Linked DNA regions of Homo sapiens: region 2 is linked to region 1. The links are contacts of gene promoters, found by promoter capture Hi-C in blood cells and fetal thymus (Javierre and others, 2016). All regions are on one chromosome and are shown on one strand. Each heading gives the region's core, a stretch centred on a gene start or on the middle of the fragment in contact. The rest is flanking DNA. Distances are from core to core; before and after follow the strand shown. Region 1 holds the start of CENPE (centromere protein E). Region 2 overlaps PPA2 (inorganic pyrophosphatase 2).

What was found. Contacts are between HindIII fragments. The CHiCAGO score rates a contact against its expected background, and 5 or more counts as called.
Region 2: a contact is called between a fragment that was not itself captured here and the fragment with the promoter of CENPE in region 1, in 1 of 17 cell types (fetal thymus). The highest score is 5.1, in fetal thymus.

The regions. Positions count from the first base shown.
Region 1 is chr4:103,194,148-103,201,234 of GRCh38, forward strand. It overlaps CENPE (centromere protein E), which reads right to left and starts at 4,196. Exons shown (of 49, transcript NM_001813.3): 1 at 4,117-4,196; 2 at 2,612-2,703; 3 at 2,016-2,105; 4 at 1,773-1,891; 5 at 967-1,086; 6 at 456-537; 7 at 227-294; 8 at 82-147. The coding sequence starts at 4,172. RefSeq lists an enhancer at 4,058-4,612. The HindIII fragment of the contact is 3,749 bases long and covers 3,242-6,990 here.
Region 2 is chr4:105,465,401-105,472,487 of GRCh38, forward strand. The region is part of intron 1 of PPA2 (inorganic pyrophosphatase 2); the gene reads right to left. Among named protein-coding and RNA genes, the nearest start is that of PPA2, 5.1 kb to the right of the region's middle. The HindIII fragment of the contact is 487 bases long and covers 3,667-4,153 here.

The DNA of each region.
Region 1 (7,087 bases), core at 2,946-5,445:
TTATTAAACCAAACATCCAGCAACTAAATTAAATTTTGTTTTGGCCCATACAGTACATTATTATGGTTCATTAATACTCACCAAATGGGATACCTTAACAGATCCTTCACAATTAGAAGGTTCACCCTTCTCTCTGCTTTCCAAAATCTAGATAGAAAAGGCAAGCTGTAGAAAAATTAGTGCATTCTTACTTGGAAAGATCTAACAGATAGATAGAATTACCTACCATCCTAAAGATGGTATGAGAACGACTGCTTCTTTGATTCATTTTTGTTTCTCCATAATGCCTGCTCTCTGTAAAAATGAGTTATATTTCAGCTGCATATATAATAAAATCCATAGAAACACAATAATTTTTATTTTAACTTAAAAAAGTATGATTTGAGGTCCAAACGTGCTTGATTGAAAAGATAGTTTTTACAAGTGTTCTAAAGAAATACAGCATAAAGTCTTACTTTCTCCCTTTGTAATCCATTTCAAAGCCATTTCTGATGTATATACAACTTCTTCTGTGAGATCAGCAACATACACATTCCTCTGAAACAAGTTTAATTATGGAAAGATTAGAGAAATAGAAGTCACAAGTTTGCTTTTCAAAAGAAGGTGCAAACTATTATAGAATTCATTTGTGAAAGTTAAAAGTGGCAAATGGAACCATAATTCTGTAGGAATGTAACAAATAATTCTATGAATACCCACAATTTATTTCACATACCAAAGCACAACAAATTCTAACCTGATACTTCCAACTTGCTATTTTTACACTTAAACCAAAATATTAGAGCTGTCAGTATTTTAAAACTATTCATATTGTTTAAAAGATGAATATAAATACTTCAAAAAAACCCTCACATACTATAGAAATAGGAGACACTTTAAAAACTATAGAAATTAAAGGTAAACATTCAAGAACAATAATCTCAATAAGTCAGTCAATTTTAAAGCTCCCTTAAGTCTGCTACTCACATTGACATCTTCTCGAATAATTAAAGGTTTCATTTTTTGAGTGCCACAGAGTAAATCTGTAATGGTTTCATTGTATATTTCCATGTAAGATACACGTAAGAGAAATTCCCTATCAGGAAACTAGAAGAAAAAAAATTATATAAAAACACCAGGAAGCATCCAATTGTGAAAACCTAATGCTAAATGCTCATGTGCTTAAAGAGGTAAAATGTATGTAAAACAAACTAAGAAACCCCTTGGTTCTACTGTTGACAAAATAATGAACACAAAAATATAAAAGCATCGTTACAGAAATAATGAAAAGTGAAGTACCATAAAGCTGGGAGAACACCAACTCTAGGCTCAAACTCTAGGCTCAAAATAAAACCCTCTCAAAAGATGTTCTTATTTTAATAAAAATGCTAATTTGAAACCAACTAACTCGGTTGCCTATTCTGGCTTTCTGCTTCCCTTCTTTTTTTACCTACATCCACTTTCTACTGTTCCTTTATAATCACTGATAGTTAAATGGTTAGGTGGAGCTAACCATTCTGATAACATTTTCTTGTTCCTTAATGCCTACTTTTTGTTGAGAGTATTATTGTTGCAGAATTCAAGAGAAAGAATAAAAGAACTTTAAGCTTTATAAAGTAAGTTGTGGAGATAAAAGTGAATCTATGCTATGCCTTTCTTCTTTCCCCATGGATAATCAAACAATAACTGTAAATCTACTTCCTTTCATCTTTACAAGAGAAATACACTAAGACTGGTACCCAGTTTTTACTAGTTTTACCTGTACGTACTAGAAATCCAGTTAAGTTACTTACCTTCTTAATTTTTTGGAAAATGTCATGAATTGCCCTGGGTATAACTCCCAAATGATCTTCTGAACCCATCATGGTATATGTTTTTCCTGAAGCAGTCTGTCCATAGGCAAATATAGTACCTGCAAAAAACAAAACACACATACGCAAAGATTAAAAACAAACCTATAATGGGTAAAACTATGCATGCTTGTTGCACAGACGCCCAAGACTAAAATGTTTCTGCAGCATTGAGTGAATACAAACCATTGTAGCCTTGTATGGCAGAATCGATGATTGGTGCTGCTATTTCTTCATACACATTTTTGGTAGTTTCATTACCATGAAAGACACGATCTAAACAACAACAACAACAACAACAACACAGAAGTTAAATCAAATGAGTCCACTGTGTTTTCATTCCAAATTAGTAATTATTCCCAAAAGTAAAACTGTCAGAATGTAGGATGATCAACTATTTAAGACACAGTATTTTTTTCAACTTTTTGGTTCTCTGAAAATACCCTTCCCTAAGGTAAAATGAGTTCATTTTCACACACAAAAAATACACTACAAGTCAACTTTTCTATGTTCTTTCAAGAGGCAATAAGGTATAGTGTTTGCACATGGGGGTCTGGAATCTACCTAGATGCAAATTAGATAACTGTGATTATAACTGTTTTAAATGCCAATTGGTTACCTTACTTAAATACATGATGGATAAACAATTTTGTTTCCAGTGAAGCAGTTTATAGAAGGCTTAGTCTAATCTTTAGTGACAAATCTAATATTATTGATAAGCCTTTTGTACTTTTAATAGCAAAAGGATAACAAGGTAACTTTTGATGCTATTATAAGCTTACCAAAATTGAAGGATTTACTTCCATCAACTTGATAAATGACATTATTGTCAGTTTTCCAGTAAACTTGGGCAGTTTCTCCAAGTGATTCTTCTCTAAAAGAATAAAAACACCGCATTTTAACCAGTCATAAAAGTCATGTCATAGGAGGAATAATTGAAAAGATTTCACCTGCTAAAGAATATTTTGAAAGATAGTAACATAAGAGAATGACAGAAAGTCCATCTTTGAGGATTCAACTCTTAAATGGAGCTTCAGTGACCTTCTGCCGCCTCAAAAGTGTTTTCTTGTGAAGGCTTTCATTCTCACCCTCTCCCCCAGTACTGGTAAACAAAGGGATGGATTCAAAATGCAACTCTGATTATGTCTGTCTTGCTTAAAATTCTTAAAACCTTTTGGAAACTTATGAAATCCTCAGCAGGGCACGAGTCCTAGATCATGTCATTTCTCTCTTCCATTTTCCTCTGAATTCCTAGATACATCCTAAGCTCTACCTGAAGGTCTTCCCCAAATGACAGATGTAACCTCTCTGTGCCTGGAATACTCTGACTTCCCTTTCCATTAAGTAACATAGGGATTATTTCACTCATGAAAAGCGTCAAGACTTTTCTGACACCAGTTCACCCCACGGGAAGCTTTCGTCTCTGATGGGCTAATAACTCCTCTAGCAAACATTCTCTACCTGCCCATCATAACACTTGTCAAAAGGTATCCTAATGGTTTCTTTATGTAGCCGTTTAAGGCATTAGATAATGAGCTCCTCAAAAATAGGAAATTCCTGATCTTGGTATTTGCATTTATTAAACCCCGTGTTCAATAAAAATTTCTCACACACACAAAGTGTTAGCATTTCGGGTCGAGGGCCAGAAGCTAGTGAAGCAAACCGATTTCATTTATTCCTCTTCCTGCTTTTTCTCCCTAGCACTTATTACCTACATATCACCACTTAACATCCTACATTTTCAACTTTACTTTCTGTCTCGTCCCATTAGAATGGAAGAGCCACTGGGCAATGACGGGAGTGTCTGTGTTGTACAAAGTCACTAAAAAAAAATTGATAAATATTTGTAGAATGATCTTGAGTGACGATTGAATGTAATGTGACAAGACAGACTAGCCCTTGTCTTCAGAGGGTCTGGAGACAGCAGTTAGGTGTAAAATGACTAACTGTGATGAGGGCCAGGAAGGCACGGTCCCATACGACTTCTCTAGGCGGGGAATGGGGCAGGGAGGAGCAGATGCCGCAAGGCAGAGCAGCACAGAAGGGAAGGTCTGTATGTCAGCGAGACTGAGTTAAATTTAAGTGAATCTCGCAGCTGGAAAGTATCTTCTAGATCTCCGATCCTCCCCTGTCACTTTACAGACCCTGAAACGATGGCCAGCAGCCGAGTCACTAGACAGCAGAGCCGGGAAGCAGCGGCTCCTGGAAACATCGTAGGCCTCGCCCCTCCGGCTCAGGGCGGCGCCGCAGGCCCAGCGGGCACCGGGCCGTGGTGTGGCCCCCCTACCTGCTGTTCAGCGGCCGCACTCGCACGCAGACGGCCACGGCTCCTTCCTCCGCCATCCTATCAGGCTGAACTGGTCCCAGGAAAATGGCCAGGACCCTCCGCGGCCGGCACTTCAGGGCTCACAGGCCGCCCCGCCTTTAAATTTAAAATTTCCCAAACGCCGCATCTGATTGAGCCGTGGCCTCGTGACGTCATGGGCCATTCCACGTGCGGAGCAGCGCGGGGGACGCAAGGCGGGCGGCGTGACCACTGCTAAACAGGAGAGGGGATTTAAAGGGCCCAGCAGAGAGTCGGAGGAGAGGGCCGAAGGGAGGGGCTCCCAGGAGTGGGCAGAGAGTGGTGGTCCTGGAATACCAGAATACTATTATCTGCCAAAAGCTAGCGAACGTCATCCTCCACCCCATCCTTAAAAAGTTTGGAACCTGTAGACGAAACTAGGTAGAGATACATGTATTTTTCACTACCCAAACAGAATTGCCGTCTTTTAAAGAAACTGCACCAACAGTTTAAAATAAACTTTCAACAGCAAGAGTTGAAATTCGCTGTCCAGTCCAGAAACGTGACAAGCCTGTTGTGCGCCTTAGAAAATCTGAGTTTAGGCTTTTCTCCTGTTTCTCTCTCTCTGTAACTCGTTTCCATTAGCTGTGGCTTCCTCAGAGGTTGAATTAGGGAAAATAAATACCGAGGACTGAAAAACTCATTGAGTAATGGGTTGATACTTTTTTTTTCTTCTTTTTTTTGGAAACGGAGTCTCGCTCTGTCACCCCAGGCTGGAGTGCAGTGGTGCTTATCTCTGCTCATTGCAGCCTCCACCTCCTGCATTCAAGTGATTCTCCTGCCTCAGCCTCCCCAGTAGCTGGGATTACAAGGTGCCCGCCACCACGCCCAGGTAATTTTTGTATTTTTAGTAGAGACGGGGCTTCGCCATGTTGGCAAGGCTGGTCTCAAAGTCCTGACCTCAGGTGATCCACTTGCCTCGGTCTCCAAAAGTGCTGGGATTAAAGGCGTGAGCCACCGCTCCTGGCCTGGTTTGTTACTTTTATTAACTAAGAGGGAAAGCTATTCTAAATACAGTGATTTTTTCCCAAAAATAATGCTTATTTTCCCTTTCTTCTCTCTCTCTCTTTTTTTTTTTTTTTTTTTTTTAAATAAACATGAGTTCTTGCTTTGTCACCTAGGCTAGAGTGCAGTAGGCTGAACACAGCTCACTGCAGGCTCAACTCCTGGCCTCAGCCCAAGTGGGGTTCCCACCTTAACCTCCTGAGTAGCTTGGATTACAGGCACATCACAAGCCCAGATAATTTTTAAATTTTTTTGTAGAGACGGGGTGGTGGGGGGATTAGGGTAGGGAGTGGGGTCTCACAGTGTTGCCTAGGCAGGTCTTGAACTCCTAGGCTCAAGCAATCCTCCTTGCCTTGGCCTCCCAAAGTGCTGGGATTACAAGCATGAGCCATCGTGCCTGGCCTAGCTTTTTATGTGTACTTTAGAAAGCTATCCAAGATGTTTCATTTATTAAGAGAAATTCAAGGTGCACGGTTATGTACACAGAATATGTCTGGATATACATACATAATTTTTGGAAAGATACACAGAATATGCCTAATTTCCTTGCAGAGTGAGGACTGAGTTAGATGGTAGACTGAGTTAGATGAAAGTAGTTTCTTTCAATTTAAAGAAACTAGTTTATAGATAAGAACAGTAAAGAAAAATGAGTCTATTCATTCAAGATTTGTTTTGGTTAACTAGCTGTGAGGTAGTATAAACAACTCTTTTTTATTGCTAGACTGTAAAGATACTTGGTTGTATCTAGTAAGAAAATACAGAGTTAAGGAAGGTATATTTTAACTGTTGTTTTTGTTTTAATTGTGGGCAAATATGAGACAGCTGAAGGCAAGGAACCTATGAAGAAGAAGGGAGATGTGATTAATCAAAATTTCTAATGAGACAAGAGGAGATTGGTTCACGAGTAAAGAGAAGTCATCAGCCTTTCATAGTTGTGCTTATGATCGTTGCTATGACTGTCTTTTTTTATCATCACAGCAGGTGACATTTATTGAAGATTTACTATATGCCAGGCTCTCTATTATATGCTCTCTATCCAATTTTTTCATCTGACTTTCCAAATTGTTCATCAAGAAATATTCATTGAACAACTGTTATGTGCCAGATACGGTTCTAAGGTCAGGAAGCACAACAGTAAATAGAATAGACACAGTACCTGTTGTTGTAGAGTTGCTATTCTCTTAGAGGAGATGGGTAATACAGAAAAATCTCAGTCTCTCTCTCTCTCTCTCTACACACACACACACACACACACACACACACACACACACACACACATAATGTAATGATTAATAGGATCAGGAGACAGAGAGAGAGTGATAAGGTGGGTTAAGAGTGCTAGTTTCTTATGAAACACATTCTTGTGGGAAGCAGCAGACAATACATAACAAATATATAGTAAAATAATGTGTTGGGAGGAAGGTTTATTTTAGATGAGATGTTCAAGAAAGACCTGAGGAGGTGACCTTTGAAGTGAAACCTATGTGAGAAGAGTGAGCCAGACTTGGGAGGACAAGAGAAAGGGCGTACCAGACAGAGGAACAAGTAAGTCAAAGAAGCCAAGGCTTGATCGAGTTTGTCATCTGTCTGAGACACAAAGGGGAGGGCCCTGTGACTGAAGCATTTGTGGCAATGGAGAGAGGTAGGCAGGTCCAGGTCCAGGACCCATGGGGCCTTGTGGGCTGTGATAAAATGTTTGGATCTTATTCTCAAGGGTGAGGGGAAGCCTATGGAGGGTTTTAAGCAAGGGGGTAAAAAGGGATTCATTAATTCCTTCAAACAAGACACTCTTTATTTCACTATGAAAATAGAAGCTTCCAGAAAAGACTTTGCCCTAATTCCTGTCAATCTGGCTACTCACTATGTGCATTTGTGCTTGCATACTCGCCTTCCAGACTGTAACTTTATA
Region 2 (7,087 bases), core at 2,660-5,159, 2.3 Mb after region 1:
CCTCTATCCTCAGGCTGCAATATGAACTGGATGCTTTCCGGGCATCCTAAGACTGCTTCTTTGCTCTCCAGTGTAGATCTATCATTTTCTGGATCCCATGCATTCACGTTTTTTTGGTTTACTTGTCTTGCAGAAGCATATCCCTAATAAGTGTTCTGTAAGAAGGATTGCATGTGAGGCCAATTTCTCAAGTTGTTAAATGTCTAAAATGTCTTTACTCTGTTCTCACTCCAGATTGACAGCTGGCTGGGTAGAAAATTCTAGGAGGAAAACTCTTTTCTCTCAGAATTTCAAAGGCATTACTCCAGTCTTCGAGCATTCAGTGTTGCAGGCCTGTTAGCTGACCACCCCCCAGCAAGACATGTGGGATCCTCTCAATAGCTGTATAATAATGTGACTGGGGGGGTCAGAAAACTTGGGTCCTTCAATTCTTAGATTTTTTTCTATTATCCCTTTTACAATTTCTTCTCCATTTTGTCTGTTCTTTCCTTCTGAAACCCATATGAGTCAAATGTTGGACTTTCTGGATTCAATCTCTACGTCACTTCTTCTTGCCTCCTTTTTCTATCTCTGACATTTTGTTCTACTTTCTGATAGATTTACCTTATCTTCTAATTCATCTATATTCTTTTTCTTAGGACTGCTGCAAGAAACTACCACAAACTTCGTGTCTCAGAACACCATTCAACCCACTACACCTTCTACTGACTTACTTGTTTTAACAAGTTATTTGCTAAAGAGGTCTTGGTCTTGATTGCCATTTCTTCACAGCCAACTCTTCCTTTTTTTTATAGCAGATGTAATAGAGAACACCCACTTGACCTTCTAAAATTCAAGTTTCTTGTTTTTCCCATTTAATTTTTAAGTTTTCCTTAAATTCATTCAGTAAATATTTCTTGAATATATGCACTGTACTAAGCATGGTTCTAGATACTAGATACAAATTCCAATTCCCTGTTCCTATGGAAATCACATTCTAGTTGGGGTGCAGAAGCAATGATTATGTGTTTATTCTATCACATATCATAAGCACTATAAAGATAAAGGAAAACAAATTAGGGAAAGTGAAGAATGAATAATGGAAGCGTTACCAATGGCAAATCCCTATGGCTCTGCAACAATCTCAATTCTTGCCTCCTCAGAAGAAAGAATTCAACTGAGGGGCAGAAGGCAGAAGGAGAGGCTGAGGCAATTTTACAGATGGAATCAGTTTATTATAATAAAAGGCTTTAGAGCAGGAACAAAGGGAAGGAAGGTACACTTGGAAGAGGGCAAAGTGGGCAACTTGAAAAGACAAATGCACGGTTTGACCTTTCAACTTGGGGTTTTATATGTTAGCATACTTCCAGGATCTTGTGTCCCATCTCCCCTGATTCTTCCCTTGGGGCAGGCTGTCTGCACACACAGTAGCCTCCCAGCACTTGGGAAAGGGACCATGTGCAACGTGTTTACTGGAGTTGTACGCGTGTTCACTTGAGGTGTTCTTCCCTTACCAGTCGAATGTCCCTAGGAGGTCACATACCAAACTCTGCCATTTTGCCTCTTAGTGCAAACGCTTGAGCCCACTCACCCAGTTCCTGAGATCTCATGGGAAGCTGCTGATCACCAGCTTCAGGTGCTTCTGTTTATTTGGAGACTGCCTTTCCCTGGTGCAGGCTGCAACCAATTAATATTTTAGAGAAACAGTTAACAACTGCCTGACCATCACCTGATGTTTGCCTGTCATTCCTGGTGTGTGTTGAGGGAGGGGAGCCCTCTTCTGCCCTGCTCATGCCTGACTAGCTACCTACTGTAACAGAAGGAGTAATATTTGATATTGAATGGTCAGGGAAGATCTCTCTGGTGGGTAACAGTTCAGCACAGATCTGAATGAAGTGAGGGAAGAGATCAAGTAGACCTCTAGGGAGGAGCACTGAAGGCATAAAAAGCACAGGTGTGCAGAGGAAAGAACATACATGGCATGTCTGAGAAACAGCAAGGAGGCCAGGATGGCAGGAGGACACTGATCAAAAGGAAAAGTGGCAAGCAATGAATTCAGAGAGGAGCCCAGTATTAGATCCAGTAGGACCTTACATGCTATGGTACATATTTCAAAAAATTTTTTGAGTGAAATGGAAAGCCACTGGCATTTTCAGCAGAGCTTGTACATTATCTGACTTACATTTTAAAAGGATGAAGGTGATTGCTGTATGGAAAGTAGACTATACAGGGCTAAGGGTGGAAGCAGGGTGAAGAATCAGGAGGTTACAACTGATCAAGGGAAAGATGATGGTGAAACAGAAAGTGAGAAGGGTGGAAGTGGACAGAAGGAATTGTCTTTTGGTACATTTCAAAAAAATATGCTAATGAGTTAGCTGTGGGATAAGAGTAAAAGGTGACAAGAAGAATGCCCAGGTTATGGGTTAGCAACTAAAGAGAGAAACAAGTTCGGTGAGGGTGGGGAGTCAGGAGTTCTGTTTTGTGCTGTTAATCTTGAGTTGTATCTTAAACATTTAGGTAGAAATACAGAGTAGAAAGCTGGATGTGTAAATTCTGAGTTCAAGAAGAGATGCGGCTAATGTTATAAATTGGGGAATCATAAACAGCGTCTAACACTATGGGACCTGATGGGATCACCCAGAGCAACAGCAATGGTCAGCAAACTCTGGCTTTATGGGCCAAATCTGTCACATGGCCTGGTTTTATTTTTGTAAATATAGTTTTATTGGAACATAACCACAGTCATACTTTTACTGTCCATGGCTGTATGTTACAATGGCAGAGCTGAGTAGTTGTGACAGAGACTGAATGGTTCGCAAAACCTAAAGTATTCCTTATCCGGCCCTTTACAGAAAACTTTGCCAACACCTGCCCTAGAGAGGCAGTATAGATAGAGAAGTGGGCTGAGGATTGAGCCCTGGGCATTTCAAAGGCTAGAGTTCGGAAATATGACAAAGGTTCAGCAAGGGAGAATGTGAAGGAGAAGCATCAAAACTAAGACAAAGTGCATCCCAGAGGAAAGCAGTTTCCTCTGGGAAAGACAAAAAAAGTGTTTCAAAGAGAAAGTGATGAACTGTAAAAAGTACTGCTGATAGGTCATATGAGGACTTCAAACTGACCATTAAGGTCGCAGCATGGAGGTGACAGGTAGCCCTGACAAAAAGCAGTTGGTAGAACAGTAGCGATGAAAGCCTAAGTTAGGTGATCCTTGACTATTTGGTTTATATTAAAAAGACTAGAAAAAATCACTGGGAACTCTGTGTTCCCACAGAGATGAATGGGTAGGAGGCTGGCTGTTATGCTGGGGTCCCCAAATACCAGCATGCAGAGTACTGCTGGGGCACCAACACCATCAGGGGTCCTACTTCCCTCTCAGCTCTTCATTCACTTTTACAGTTGGAACTAACACAACCCTCATGCATTAGACCTGCATGGGAAACATTTGTGTACTATTTGTAGTACAACTTAAACTAATCCCCCTGTGTTAAGTTCTACATCCATCTAACTCTCTATCCTATCTTATATCAACACACCCACAACCTCTCTGAGGTTCTGCAGCAGCTCGGCTTTTCCCTAAACTACGTCCCCTGAACACATATACTTAAGCTGGGACTTCTTCCACACTGCTTCATTAATAACCATATCTCCATTGGTTTTTTAATCTTTTATACATATTTCAAAATCTCAAGCTTTGGTGGCTCCTTATCTGTTGTTTTAGGGTTACCCTTTCTTATCCTCACTTACTATCACTTTAATAGGATATTTATTATAGGGGAAAAGAGATAAATGATTGTAGTCACTGTGTCATTTTTGCCATGGTATTTCACTGTCGTCAAAAATCAGATTGTGTCCTTAGGCATTAATTGCTAACCTCTATCAGGCCCATCAATCTACACGATATTGCCAAACAGTGGTCAAAATTCTCCCTTCAACTGGTCTGAAATCAGATTTTATTCTAGCATTTTCTAAGTTATCTATGTGATTCTTTCTCTCACAAGAGCAAGTTGTATCAGGATGAAAGTTTATTACTTACACTAGAGCAAGTGAGAAAATTGAATGGAATGTGAAAACCATACCTAATTTTATGTATCTATACCAGACAGCTAAATGTATGCCATATACCAACATATGATTACACACGACTACAAAACCACTTATAGAGATTCTTACTGGAAGCTTCAGCAATGACTAAAGCTAACTTTGTTTTATTTTCTGATAAAAAGATTAAGAAATGTAAAGGAGCCTAAAAACTTCAATAAAAATGCTTCCTCTGTTCCATATAGATCACACAATTCCTATTTCACAGCACTGATATAGAAAACGTTTAAGGTTTTAAGGACTGAAAAATCAAATAAAATACTTTTTCTATATTCACACAAAACCCATTGTGTTCCATTATATCAGTTGAAGTTCTATGATATAGGCCAACTTTAAAAAGTTACAGAAACTCATATTTAAGACTCAAACAAATTTTGTGGATTATTCACGGGAAGTTCTCTTTTAAGTCCAAAGATACAGCACTTTCAATGGCAGATTCCTCCTACTACCCAAATGACATAAAGAAAACCTACAGTAATTTCAACACAAGCACATGCTTACTATAAGTGACAAAGCAAATTAATTTTAAAGAACTGCTTGGTTCATTCCCAGACTAAATAAAAGCAACTTGAATTATCCACAGCACTATTTCTCTAAGTAAACCAGTTGCCTATCCCATAATAACAAAATTCCTAATTATGGAAAGCATAGCTTTTCCCTATCCTATGAGAACAGTATGAAATCTAAAATAAAATTTCAAGTTATTAACGAAACAAAACAAACAAAAACACGCAAGATATCAAAGGAATACTGGCATGCAGCATTAGGTCTTTGGCTCAATATAAGTGAGTCTAACTTCATTATGATTTCACAGTTAATTTAAAAGACTGCAAGTACCCATTAAAACTTTAAGACCTAGGAAGCCGGGCACAGTGGTGCATGCCTGTAGTCCCAGCTACCCAGGAGACAGAGGTGAGAGGATCGCTTGAGCTGGGGAAGTCAAGGCTGCTGTGAGTCGTGATTGCACACTGTGCTCCAGCTTGGGCAAAAGTATGAGACCCCATCTCTAAACAAACAAACAAACCAAAAAAATAAAAATAAAATGAATAAACAACAACAACAAAAAACCTTCTGAAACCTATAAATTAACAGGAACACTTCAAAATAATCAATCACATCACCTTATTTTCTCCCTTCACAGAATCTAATAATAAGGATTTTAGTCTAATGTCTTAAAGTCAAAAGGGAAAAATAAATAACATTTATTAAATACCTATCACGTGTGAGACACTGATAATTACACACATAGTCTCATTTAACTGCCACAGCAATTCTATAAAATTACTAGTGCTATCCCCATTTTATTTACGGAGAAACTGAGCTACCGGATGTCATCTGAAGGTAAGGGATGCCTCTGGTTAATTCAGTCGAGTGACTTGTCCAAGACGGTAAAGTCAGGACTACAACTTAAGTGGTTTGACTATTAGTTTAGAACTGTTACAGCACAGTTGCTTCTGGAAGTTGCAGAAATCATAACCCTGATGTCACTAAGATGTTAACAAATGTTCTGAGAAATAAGTACTCTGTGGTTCAGTTTTTGGAGAAGTTACATCCGAATTTTCCAGAACTTAAATAGGCAAATTCTTCTTCAAAAAAGTAATAAAATGGGAAGTGTTCTAATTTATTAAACCATGAAACCCTCTGTTTTAACGAAAACCTAATAATATACCATGGGATGCTTGTGTTCAACTAAGCAGTCTGGAAAATGATCATCTGGTCCAATCTCCTCATTCCATGGTTTTAAAAAATGAGATGCAGGGAGGTGAAGTGACAGCAAGATACTAACAGGGTCAGGGCTGGCACCAAGGAGGCCTGATGATTCCCATCAGGATACCCTTTCCCCTAATCATCCTGTCTCACTCTTTCTACAAAGTTTAACACCAATTTTTTTTTAAGTATTACATCAATCATTTATTCTGATTTTACTGAATGACAGTAAAGAGAAACCATTTACAGACATGAAGCTCGAAAATGTTCTACCTCCCAATGCACTAGTATTTCAGAGACTTGGAATATATTTGGAGATGTGGAAAATGATTACACTTTAGTAACACTGAGTAACAATTTTAGGCCAAGTATACTACACTCATATTTTTTTTGAAGTGAGACATTAGTCCACCCTAGTACTGCATACAGACACACTGAGTAATAAATATCCAATCTGTGATCATCTTTATAAAGGGCAATTTATTCGTTGCTTTCCCCTTACCCCATTCGCCCTAGAGTGGCTTCGTTTCACTTTGCCCTACCCCTTCTAGCAGGTAGTAAACAGTCCTGGCCAGTGATGCCATCTGGCGGTTAGTTCAGAAATTGTTTAACCAACACACCTTCCAATCAGGATCTTACCATCGGGACCCTCTCCAAAACCACACTCCCCTTTCTTCCAGTTTTTGCCCATTTACCTTAGTAAAATCGGGTTTTCTTCTTTCCTGCCCTGTTTATCCAACTGAATGAAAAACGTATTTTATTTGTGGCACTCTAGTTACAGAAAAATCATGAGTCCTAAGTACATTTGCAGCTAAAGAAACAAACCAACAATAAGAGGCCAACATACTCCCAAAAATGCCCCCATTCGACATCCTGTCTTAACAGAGACTGTTAGAATCTCCGTTATTCATCCAATGCCTTCAGGGAATACCAGTGCTGAGAAGGACCTTGAGGATCATCGTTTCAAGGTCAAAAGCTTCATTTTACAGCTGAAGAAACTGGCTCTGTGAGAAAGAACTGAAGTAACCACCCACCCAACAGCACACAGCGAGTTAACGGCAGAGCCAAGATTATGGCCTAGGACTCCCCATTCCAAATCCGGTACTGGGTCAACTACTCTGTGCGCTCCTGGCTTCTCAAGCCTGTTTTTGCTCAACCAGTGTATTTACTTTTTCCATAATTATAGTAATATTGTGAATCTCTGTACTATGCCTAACAGTGTCTAGCACACTTCATAAATATTTATTATTTGGGTATCTATTAATTACCGTACTTATTGCAAATCTAGAATACTTGCAGTAGA